3 separate regions of the Homo sapiens genome follow, and regions 2 and 3 are each linked to region 1. Evidence: promoter capture Hi-C in 16 types of primary human blood cells and fetal thymus (Javierre and others, 2016). All regions are on one chromosome and are shown on one strand. Each heading gives the region's core, a stretch centred on a gene start or on the middle of the fragment in contact. The rest is flanking DNA. Distances are from core to core; before and after follow the strand shown. Region 1 holds the start of PASK (PAS domain containing serine/threonine kinase). Region 2 overlaps ATG4B (autophagy related 4B cysteine peptidase). Region 3 overlaps THAP4 (THAP domain containing 4).

Evidence for each region. The method cuts DNA at HindIII sites, captures the fragments that hold promoters and counts their contacts. A CHiCAGO score of 5 or more calls a contact.
Region 2: a contact is called between a fragment that was not itself captured here and the fragment with the promoter of PASK in region 1, in 1 of 17 cell types (neutrophils). The highest score is 9.1, in neutrophils.
Region 3: a contact is called between a fragment that was not itself captured here and the fragment with the promoter of PASK in region 1, in 1 of 17 cell types (total B cells). The highest score is 5.4, in total B cells.

Annotation. Positions count from the first base shown.
Region 1 is chr2:241,147,509-241,151,080 of GRCh38, forward strand. PASK (PAS domain containing serine/threonine kinase) reads right to left here and starts at 1,964. Exons shown (of 18, transcript NM_015148.4): 1 at 1,906-1,964. It overlaps PPP1R7 (protein phosphatase 1 regulatory subunit 7), which reads left to right and starts at 2,959. Exons shown (of 10, transcript NM_002712.3): 1 at 2,959-3,039. The coding sequence starts at 2,988. RefSeq lists enhancers at 918-1,077, 2,591-2,750 and silencers at 1,331-1,380, 1,431-1,490, 1,551-1,910, 3,041-3,380. The HindIII fragment of the contact is 12,026 bases long and covers 1-3,572 here.
Region 2 is chr2:241,640,160-241,643,731 of GRCh38, forward strand. The region is part of intron 1 of ATG4B (autophagy related 4B cysteine peptidase); the gene reads left to right. Among named protein-coding and RNA genes, the nearest start is that of ATG4B, 4.3 kb to the left of the region's middle. The HindIII fragment of the contact is 477 bases long and covers 1,452-1,928 here.
Region 3 is chr2:241,602,115-241,605,686 of GRCh38, forward strand. THAP4 (THAP domain containing 4) reads right to left here. Exons shown (of 6, transcript NM_015963.6): 4 at 856-965. Among named protein-coding and RNA genes, the nearest start is that of THAP4, 33 kb to the right of the region's middle. The HindIII fragment of the contact is 8,965 bases long and covers 1-3,572 here.

The DNA.
Region 1 (3,572 bases), core at 714-3,213:
TGCTTGGGAGGTTGAGGTGGGAGAATCGCTTCAGCCCAGGAGGCGGAGGCTGCAGTGAGAGGACACAGCACCACTGCACTCCAGCCTGGGCCACAGAGCAAGACCCTGTCTCAAAAAATAAAATAATAAAAAAGTAATATAACTATTCAGAATATATTGTAAATGTTACAGAAGTTTCTTTGTAAAAGTAACTAACATGAAATGGAAAGGGGGAAAAAAAGCAAAGGGAGGGTAAGGGCATGCAATTTTTTGTCCTTCATGGGAGAAAGTAAATAAATACCAACTAAAGTTGTGGAAGTTTAATTAGGTTACTGAGAGTTACAAGCCTATCCAGGAGGGAAACTGATGGGACCCTCTGCGGGAGCGGGGAGGACAGCAGGAAAGATGCATCCTTTTTCCCGCTGTGCCTCCTGGGCATCTGAAGTCCACGTGGGCCAGTTTGTCACTGAACAGCATAGGCCCCTGGAGCCTCCCGTGCACTCCACAGCCACAGCCTGGCCTCAAGAAAGAACAGAGTCTGGCTTCACATGACCTTAGATCACTAAATTTTGACTCAGACGTTAACCAGAAATACCTGCACGTCCAGGCCCAAATTTTTAAAATTGTCCTTTGTATCCACTGTGAGCTGCAGACACGGGAACCCAAACCCAGCAGACAGCACCTAATGGTGCCACCGAGTAACCATATTCCCATTGCTAGTTTTGATTCCAGAAGACACAAGTGACCCCACCTCAGACCAAACAGAAGCAAGGACAACTTTGCAGGGAGCATCTCGGCGAACTTCTAGAAGCAACTGTCCCCCTCCCACCAGAACATAAGCTAAGAAGCAAACAGCTCCCATTGCTGTCAGCACAGCTGTACAACAAAAAGGAGAACCAGTTTCAGGATGAGGCCAACAAGGTGAACAGTGCAGTAGAACACAGCAAGGATGTCAGTCCTGGAGGAGGCACCTGCAGAGCCGGGCCCTACCAAGCAGAGTGAAGAAGTCTTTCAGAGGCAAAGCCTCCCAGAGAGGAGTTCAGTACCCAGAAGAGTAGGTGGACGTGGGCCTGGAAGGGCCAAGCATGAGCCCAGAGCCTCCTATGCCTGCCCAAAGTCTTAATTTTATCCCCAAAATGAACTTTTAAGGATTCAATGCTTAGGAGTAACATGGCCAGATATGCATTTTACAAAGATTACTCCAGGGACCATGTCGGTGCAAGGCTGGAAAGCAGGAGAAAGGCTACAGTAATCCAGGCAAGAAATTATAAAGTCTTAAATTAAGGTAGCAGCAGAAAGATGAAGAGAGGGAACCCCTAAGAGAAAAATGGACATCGAATGGTACTGAGATGCGGAAGGTAAGGACGAGAAAGGCCTCAAGACGGCAGCGCAGGCCCCTGCCGTACTCTGGGAAAGAAAAATTAGTGAAAAAATTAAGGCTCAAGTCCAGGTCTTTGCTGTAACCACGAGCGCCGGCGGCGCGCGCCCCCGACCCCGCGGCGCCGGCTGAGCCCGCAGGGACCCACACGCCCAGTGCAGGAGGCTGGCGGGATCCGGGCTGGTTCTCCTGGAGCTCGCCCCGCAGGGCCGGCTGCGGTGAAGAGAGCGCAGGGTCCCGAGGCGACCCGAGGCGCGGGGCCTCGGCGCCCACCGGGCAGGCTACACTGAAGGGCACCCCGAAGACGCTGGGGGCGCGGGGCCCAGGGCCAACGGCCGCAACCCCGCCGCGATTTGGGCACGGAGAGGACGCGGGCTCGGCGGTGCGCGAAGGGCGACGGGCGCAGGGGCGGGAGACCCGGGGTCGGGCTGGTCTAAGAGTCGGGCGGCGGATCCTCCTGGGCCAGGGGCGCGGAGCCGCGCAGGCCCCACAGCCGCCCTGGGGAGATGGCGGAGCCCGGCCCGCTCTCCCGAGCGCAGGTATCTCACCTGGATCAGGCGAGGGTCACGCCAAGCCGGCTACACACCACGGAAAGGAGCCCTTCCGCGCTTTTATCCCACCGACCAATCGCACAGCGACTAGCACCGATTGACAAGCTCCACGGACCAGCCACTTGCGCGTATGGGCGGGACTAAGCTAGCCAGAGTCTAGAAGCCCGCGCTAAGGGTTGCTAGGGACGCACCAAACACCCCTACGGCGCTTCGGAGGAGCCAAAGGAATAATGGGCGCCTCCGCCCCCGGGCCGGGCAGATGCGGTTTCCTCCCGACTCGCGATCAAAATGGGTGAGTAGCGCAGAGCTCGCCTCTTGGAGGCCTCTTTCTGAAGGCGGAGGACGCGGGGCGGCTCGTTCATGGGCCGGGTGGCTCCGCAGGGTAGACGAAGGCTGCAGCGTCCGCACTGGGCTGGGAACGACTTGCAAGGGGAGCCCAGCTGGCGCCCCGGAGCCAGCCAGCTGGCTAGCGGCCCCACCAGCGCAAGTGCCCCGCACCTGCCCGCCTGCTCCGAGCGTCAAGAGAAGGCGGCATTTCGCATGGGTAAAATCCGCGCGGGGACGCCGGGAGAATGTTGTTGCTCTTGCCGTTCGGCCCATTGTACAGACGCAGCCAGCGAGGCTCGCAGAGGTCAGGGATGCACGTAGGACTGGCCCGCACCTTGCAGCCACGGAAAGATCCGCCTGGCCCGCGGCCCCTCCACGCCTCCGAGGTCGAGACAGTGACATAAGTCAACTCTCAAGCCCAGGGCGTCTCTCCACTCTGCCTAGACGTCCACTCCGTCTGCCTGCAGCTACGGCTCTGTGCGTCCCGCTTCGACTCCCTCTGCTTTCCTTCCCAGCTTCTCGCCTCCAGACTGTTCCGGCTCCGCCGCCTGAAATTACCTGCTCTGGGGGAGGCGCGGCGCGCGGCCTCATGACGGAACTACAACTCCCATGAGGCGCTGGGCCCACGCAGGCGCGGCGCGGCTGAAGTCGCCGCGCCGGAATCCCATTGGCAGGGCCGGCTCTGAGGCGGGAGCCCTGATTGGCTGAGGGGTCTGAGGCGACAGATTCCGGAAAGGGGAAGAGCAGCCAACATGGCGGCGGAACGCGGCGCGGGGCAGCAACAGTCGCAGGAGATGATGGAGGGTGAGCGGCCCCTGCGGGCGGCGGCCCAAGGGCCCAGCGGGCGGGGGGAGCTGCGGGCTGGAACTGCTCCGTGCCTGAGAGAAACTCCACGTCCTGCCTCTGGCCGCCGCCGCGCGGCCCCCTGACAGCTGACAGCCGGACCCGGGGGAGCGGGGGAGGCGCTGGACCTCGGGGGAGCCCCGGCCCGGGGGCGGCAGCGGCCGGGAAGGACCCAGAGCTAGGGGGAGAGCGGCGGCGCGAGGCCAGGCCGGGGGTGGGGCTGAATGGGACGCGGTGGCTCCATTCAGTCCAGTTGGAGCCTCGCCCCGAGCCTCTGAGATTGACGGGCGGGGGAGCCTCCTCGGTCAGCTGACGAGGAAACTGAGGCGCTGGGATCTACCAGAGTCTGCTCCTTGGTTCACGTGGTGAGGGTGGAGAAGGGTCTTCTCTTGAAATCGAATGGACTGTTGGGAAGGGGTAACAAGGAACCGGAAGATTGAGTTACACAAGGTGATACCTGTTTTCAAAGCTGTCATAGTTCCAAAAAGTCTGAA
Region 2 (3,572 bases), core at 440-2,939, 490 kb after region 1:
TACATGGCGATACTTTATTTTATCTTTTATTTTCCCTTGACAACTGTGTTGACATGGTGATACTTTAATAGGACACTGGATGTTGCTGCATGTGGGATCAGAGTAGAAAAGGTGTTTGCATTTAAAGGTCTCTGTTTATGCTGATAAAAACGTATATGATGTTTGTAGGATATCATGGGGAATTTTCCTTCTGACTTGATGCTGTATTTCCTTTCAGAGATGATTAATGATCTGCCCTCCTTTGATCTCTAGAGTTCTTGAAGATTCTGCCTTCCTTGACCATGTGTAATACAGTTTCTGTTCTGATAGTCATTAATTCAATACACTGTTTGTTACTGACTGTCAGATATGTGTTAGGCATTGTTCTAGACACTAGGACTAGAGAAGTAACAACATAGATGAAAACCATTGCCCTGGGGTAGCTAACGTTCTAGACATGAGACCAGCATTAGCAGCGAAGTGCGTGGCTCCTGGGGGATGGTGATTTGGGCCAAGGATGAGGAGGATTGGAATTGTAGCCAGGATGGCCAGGAAGGGTCTCACTCTGAAGGTTTAAGTTTTGACGAAGACTTAAAGCAGTGTAGGAGGAAGGGCAGGTAGCAAGAGCCTGGTGTGGCTCAGGTGCAGCGGGTGGCGGTGGGAGAAGCAGGAGCTGAGGATAGAAAGGTGACTTAGGCTCAGTGTAGTGGGGCCTTGCCAGCTCATAGTGAGGACTCGGTGTTTATTCTGAACAGGATGGCAGCTCATAGTGAGGACTCAGTGTTTATTCTGAACAGGATGGCAGCCGTTTGGAAGGTTTCATTCTAGAGGAGGAGTCACATGATAGACTGTGTTCAACAGGCTTGCTCTGGCATCTCTTTTGAGAATGTACTGCAGAGGGGCAAGGGCAGAGGCAGCGAGACCAGCTAAGAGACTGTTGAACAAGCCAGCAAGGAGATGCCAGTGGATTAGCTCAGGGTGGGTAAGAGGTTGACTTCTGCATGTGTTTTGGAGGTTGAGACAATAGAATTTGTTTGTAGATTGGAAGTTGGGAGAGGGATGGGTAGAGAGGGAGGAGTTAAAGATGGCCCCATAGTGTATGGCCTGAGCTAAGCAACTCAGATGGAGGGGGGCGGGCGTGGTGGCTCACGCCTGTAATCCCAGCACTTTGAGAGGCCGAGGTGGGCGGATCACAAGGTCAGGAGATCGAGACCATCCTGGCTAACACGGTGAAACCCCGTCGCTACTAAAAATACAAAAAATTAGCCGGGCATAGTGGCGGGCGCCTGTGATCCCAGCTACGCAGGAGGCTGAGGCAGGAGAATGGCGTGAACCCGGGAGGCGGAGCTTGCAGTGAGCCAAGACTGCGCCACTGCACTCCAGCCTGGGCGACAGAGCGAGACTCTGTCTCAAAAAAAAAAAAAAAAAGAAACTCAGATGGGGAAGACTTGGGGAGGTCCTGTCTGGTGGGAAGCTTTCTGTTGCGAGTTTGGATTTATGTGTGTTGAATGTGAGGTGGATGTTAGACATCCTTGTAGAGCAGTGTCCAGTGGGCTTTTGGGTCTACAGGTTTGGAGCTAAAAGAATAAGCCTGGGCTGGAGATAGACTGGAGGTCACATCAGATGAGGTCACCCAGGGTGTGAATGTGGGTGGGAAAGAAAAGAGGCCAAAGGCCTCTGCGGGTGTGGAGAGGTCCAGGAGGTGGCAGGCAGACCACAGTGTGGCTGTGTTCTCCACCAGTCCCTAGCACTGTCCCTAAAAGCATGCTCCCCATTCAGACGACTGGCAGGTGCCAGCACTTAAATAGCCACACTGCCCATTCCTTGAGGACAGAGCTGGTGTCTTGTGCTTGCATTTCTAGTGCATCACTTGTGTCTGGCATGTGGTTGGTAATAAAAAAAAAACAGAACTTGAATTAATAATAACCTACACATTCCCCTACTATCAAAGCTTTCAGTTTGTAGAGTTTAACATAAATCCAGTATGTTAGCATAACATGTAATGAATGCAGAGGCTGCTGGGGAGTGGTTTTTTTTTTTTTCTTGAGATGGAGTCTTGCTCTGTTTCCCAGGCTGGAGTGCGGTGGGCGCGATCTAGGGGAGTGGGTTTTAATGTGCGCAATCTGCCCAGTGTGTGCACTGAAACAGTGTTTTCTAGCTTTCTGATGTAGCTAAATTTGGAGTTCCTTTCTCTCTTTCTCTGTTTTCATTCAGGACTGAACTACTAGCATTCTCATGTAAACTCTTGGAGATTTAAAAAAAAGTAGTAATCATATGCAAACTGTTATCTTAAACCTAAGAGCTTTCTAAAGGAAAAGAAGAACCTTTGTTGAATTTATAAAATATAAATCTTTTGGAAAATAACTTCTAAGTGTTTTAGGAAGGTTTCTTCGAAATGAAGTGGTTTACAGTAAGCTCTTAAATTTACTCGTTTTTTTTTGTAGTCCTCTCTGGTTGAATGAAGTGTAATTGGTACTAAATGGAGAGAAGTTGGTTAAATTCATTGAGTACAATTCCCTACATTTCTGCCTGTCAGATTAGTAGTACTAAGTCACATGTTTTTTCTGATGGAATTACTATATTATTAAAATGCCATCTGCCCTCTTCTGCTTGTGATCGCAGAAGTCCCAGGGAAGAGGGCGTGGAAAATCAAGTGTCTGGGATCCAGCCGACCAAATGGGAGAACTGCTTCTAAGGGGGACTCTTTCTTAAGGTGTACAGCACCTCTCCGTCCTTTTTTTTTTTTTTTTTTTTTTTTTTAAGACGGAGTCTCACTGTCGCCCAGACTGGCTGGAGTGCAGTGGCTCTATCTCAGCTCACTGCAGCCTTCGCCTCCTGGGTTCAAGAGATTCTCCTGCCTCAGCCTCCCGAGTAGCTGGGATTACAGGTGTGCACCACCATGCCTGGCTAACTTTTTTATATTTTTAGTAGAGATGGGGTTTCACCATGTTGGCCAGGCTGTTCTCGAACTTCTGACCTCAAGTGATCTGCCCGCCTCGGCCTCCCAAAGTGCTGGGATTACAGGTGAACCACCACACCCAACCTACTTCTTCATCTTGTTCCTCCTGCGTGTCATCTTTTTTTGAGGCAGGGTCTCACTTCATCGCTCAGACTGGAGTATGGTGTTGCGGCCTCAGCTCATTGCAGCCTTGACCTCCTGGGCTCAAGTGATCTTCTTGCCTCACATTCCTCAGTAGCTAAGACTACAGATGTCCACGCCTAGCTATTTTTTTTTTTTTTTTTTTTTTAAGAGAGACAGGGTCTCCCTGTATTGCCCAGGCTGGTCTCAAACTCCTGGGCTCAAGTGATCCTCCCATCTTGGCTTCTTAAAGTGCTGGGATTACAGGCATGAGCCACGGCACCTGGCCTTACATGTCATCTTATTTCAAATTAATATCATTACCTGGAAGTCTAGAGATGGGTCTATATATTTATTTATGTATATATGTACATATATATATAAACATATATATACGTATATATACACATAAATATATACACATATATGTATAAATATATATATACGTGTGTGTGTGTGTGTGTATGTATATATTTTCCCCCCCCCCCGTCGTCCAGGCTGGAGTGCAGTGGCG
Region 3 (3,572 bases), core at 719-3,218, 450 kb after region 1:
GGAAGCAACGATATTTCTCCTCCTCCCCACTTCACCCTGTGGATACGGAGGGAAAGCCACAACTCTCCTCACAGAACAGGCAGGTGCTCTATGGAAGGCCACCCTCTCCAGACTGGGCCCCAGCCCTCCCACCTCCACCCACCAATCAGCCTGGCAGAACCACCCCTAGCACATACAGTGGCAGAAGTCGCAGGTGGGAATGGACGTCCAGGAAGAAACACTGATCTAGAGTCACGCAGGCTGGTTTTTTTTTTTTTCTTTTTTTTTTGAGACAGAATCTCGCTCTGTTGCCCAGGCTGGAGTGCAGTGGCGCATTCTTGGCTCACCGCAACCTCTGCCTCCCAGGTTCAAGTGATTCTCCTGCCTCAGCCTCCCAAGTGGCTTGGGATTACAGGCATGCACCACCACACCCAGCTAATTTTTGTATTTTTAGTAGAGACGGGATTTCAGTATGTTGGCCAGGCTGGTCTTGAACTCCTGACCTCAAGTGATCTGCCCACCTAGGCCTCCCAAAGTGCTGGGATTACAGGCGTGAGCCACTGTGCCCAACCTGTTTTCCAGCAATTCCTAATGAATGCACACAGCTGATGGCCATTTCTGCAGACGTGGCACTGGGTAAACGGGCCCTCATGGTCAGGGGGCTGCACGCACACAACCTGTGTGCCGGAGGCCCCTACAGCTACACAGTCGGCCCCGCAGGCTCCCAGGACCACTCTCAACACTCAGGGCCATCCCCACGGTCCCCACCAGCACATGCCTCAGCAGGGTTGCACATGGGCATCCCTGCACCCCTGCTTCGAATGCAGGCAGCAGCCTCCCATGGCCAGCCCTCCCGCCCCGCAAGCTGGGCCTCACCTGTGTTCTGGGCGCTGACAAAGGCCACCTTGTTGGTGTCGGGCTTGAGGCGAATGAAGCCACACTCTCTGTGCATCGGCTTGCGCGTGTCCGGGTGGAAGGAGTTGAACCTGGACGGGAAGTTGGAGTTGAGAAGCCCAGGCACTGGCCTCCAAGATGGCGTGGGCTGCGTGGATGCCAGAACTGTCCAGGGTGCCCTCCAGGTGGCTGCTCCAGCCACACCCGCACACCTGTCTGCCCCTACCACCACCTTGCTCATTTTGGCTGTGTCTGTCTTACCTGCTGACCCTCCACTCCTGAAGACGGGCTGTTCCAGCCACGCCCACACACCTGCCCGCCCCCTCCACCACCTTGCTCATTTTGGCTGTGTCTGTCTTGCCTGCTGACCCTCAGCTCCTGAAGACGGGCTGTTCCAGCCACACCCGCACACCTGCCCGCCCCCTCCAGCGCCTTGCTCATTTTGGCTGTGTCTGTCTTACCTGCTGACCCTCAGCTCCTGAAGACGGGCTGTTCCAGCCACACCCGCACACCTGCCCGCCCCCTCCACCACCTTGCTCATTTTGGCTGTGTCTGTCTTGCCTGCTGACCCTCAGCTCCTGAAGACAGCACTGTTCTTAATCACCTCAGGGCATATCCTTGCCCTGGGCCCGTTAGCCCAGGCCTCACACAGTGTCAGCCCTCAGCACTCCCTTGCAGTAAACCTCACCCTAACACAATCTTTCTCTTTTGAGCTATGCTCTTGTGTAAGAATCTAATCAATTCCTACGGTAAAAAACAGAACAGGTGCTGAGTTATGGTATGGTTTCTTATCACCCTTCATCATTAGTGCAAATTCTCAACAGTAAAAGACAGGCACCTGCATCTTGAACTGAGGGCACAAAACCACGGCTTAAAAACTAACTCGCTGGCATGGTGACTCAAGGCCGTAATCCCAGCACTTCAGGGGCCCAGTCGGGTAGATCTCTTGAGCCTAGGAATTTGAGACAGGGCTGGGCAACACAGACCCTGTTTCTACAAAAATAAAAACAAAAAAACCAAACCAAAAAAAAAAAAGCCTCATTTATCATTTCACCAACCTTATGAGTTTCTATAGGGAATCCATCTCTATGATTCTTAGAGATAAACTTTATTTATTTATTTTTTTGCTCTGTCACCCAGGCTCGTCGCGGTCTCAGCTCAGTGAAACCTCCGCTTCCTGGGTTGAAATGATTCTCCTGTCTCAGCCTCCTGAGTAGCTGGGATTACAGGCGCCCACCACACCCGGCTAATTTATTTATTTATTTATTTATTTATTTTTTGAGACAGAGTTTCTCTCTTGTTGCCCAGGCTGGAGTGCAATGGCGCTATCTTGGCTCACTGCAACCTCCGCCTCCTGAGTTCAAGCGATTCTCCTGCCTCAGCCTTACCGAGTAGCTGGGATTACAGGCATGCGCCACCATGCCCGGCTAATTTTGTAATTTTAGTAGAGACCAGGTTTCTCCATGTTGGTCAGGCTGATCTTGAACTCCCAACCTCAGGTGATCTGCCCACCTCAGCCTCTCAAAGTGCTGGGATTACAGGTGTGAGCCACTGTGCCCAGCCACACACCCGGCTAATTTTTGTATTTTTGTATTTTTTTTTAGTAGAGACACAATTTCACCACATTGGCCAGGCTGGTCTCGAACTCTTGACTTCTAGTGATCCACCTGCCTTGACCTCCCAAAGTGCTGGGATTACAGGCGTCAGCCACCGCACCTGGCCAAGATAAACTTATTTATTTATTAAAACAAATTTTTTTAGGGTCTCACTGTGTTGCCCAGGCTGGTCTTGGACTCCTGGACTCAAGTGATCCACCCGCCTTGGCCTCCCAAAGTGCTGGGATTACAGGCACGAGCCACCGCGCTGGGCCAAGATAAATTTCTGTTGGGCTAGTGATGGTGCTACACCTTCTAGAATGGTACATGCTCACTAACATAACCCCGACAAAGAAATACATTTATACCATATTCTAGGACACACACACAAACACACATACCATCACATTTACTGAAATATATTTTCCACTCTGGTTCATTTTTCTTCGAATGCTAGTCACAAAATTGACTTTCTGACCTTTTCGTGGGTTATAATCTATAGTTTAAAAAAGACTGCTTGGGTTCTGGGTTATTTTGTATTACCCAGAATTCTCACCTTTTGGTTTATGTGCAGATGTATTACTTTGACCTCATGCATTCAATCAATAATAATATAAAAAGGTAGGAGATATTTTTAAAAACAATGAGATCTTCTAAAAGGGGATGGAGGGTCTCAGAGCTGGGGGTCTGAGAGCCAGGTGCCCAGCCCCGTTCTGAAACTGCTAGGCATTATACAAATAGTACCAAGTTGGTTTAATAAGATTCTTAACATATAGTTGTGTAATGGAGACTAAGGGAGGGTTTGCTTTTTATATTTTGTTTAAACTTTAAAAAAACTGTGTATTACTTCTATAATTAAAAAATAAAGATACTTCAACCACTCCCCATCCCTGGTGGCTCTCCTCTACTTCAGAGGCCTACACTGCTATCTCCCTAAAAGCAGGCAATTTCTCCACCTGTGGGGAGCAGGTGGTGGGAAGGGATACTGAGGGACCTCAAGGGGCTTTTGCTTTCTTGTACGGTAAGAATATGAGAACCACATACTAACAGCTTCCTTGTGACCCCAAATAGCTCAGGGGTACGTGTAAAATACAAACATGCACT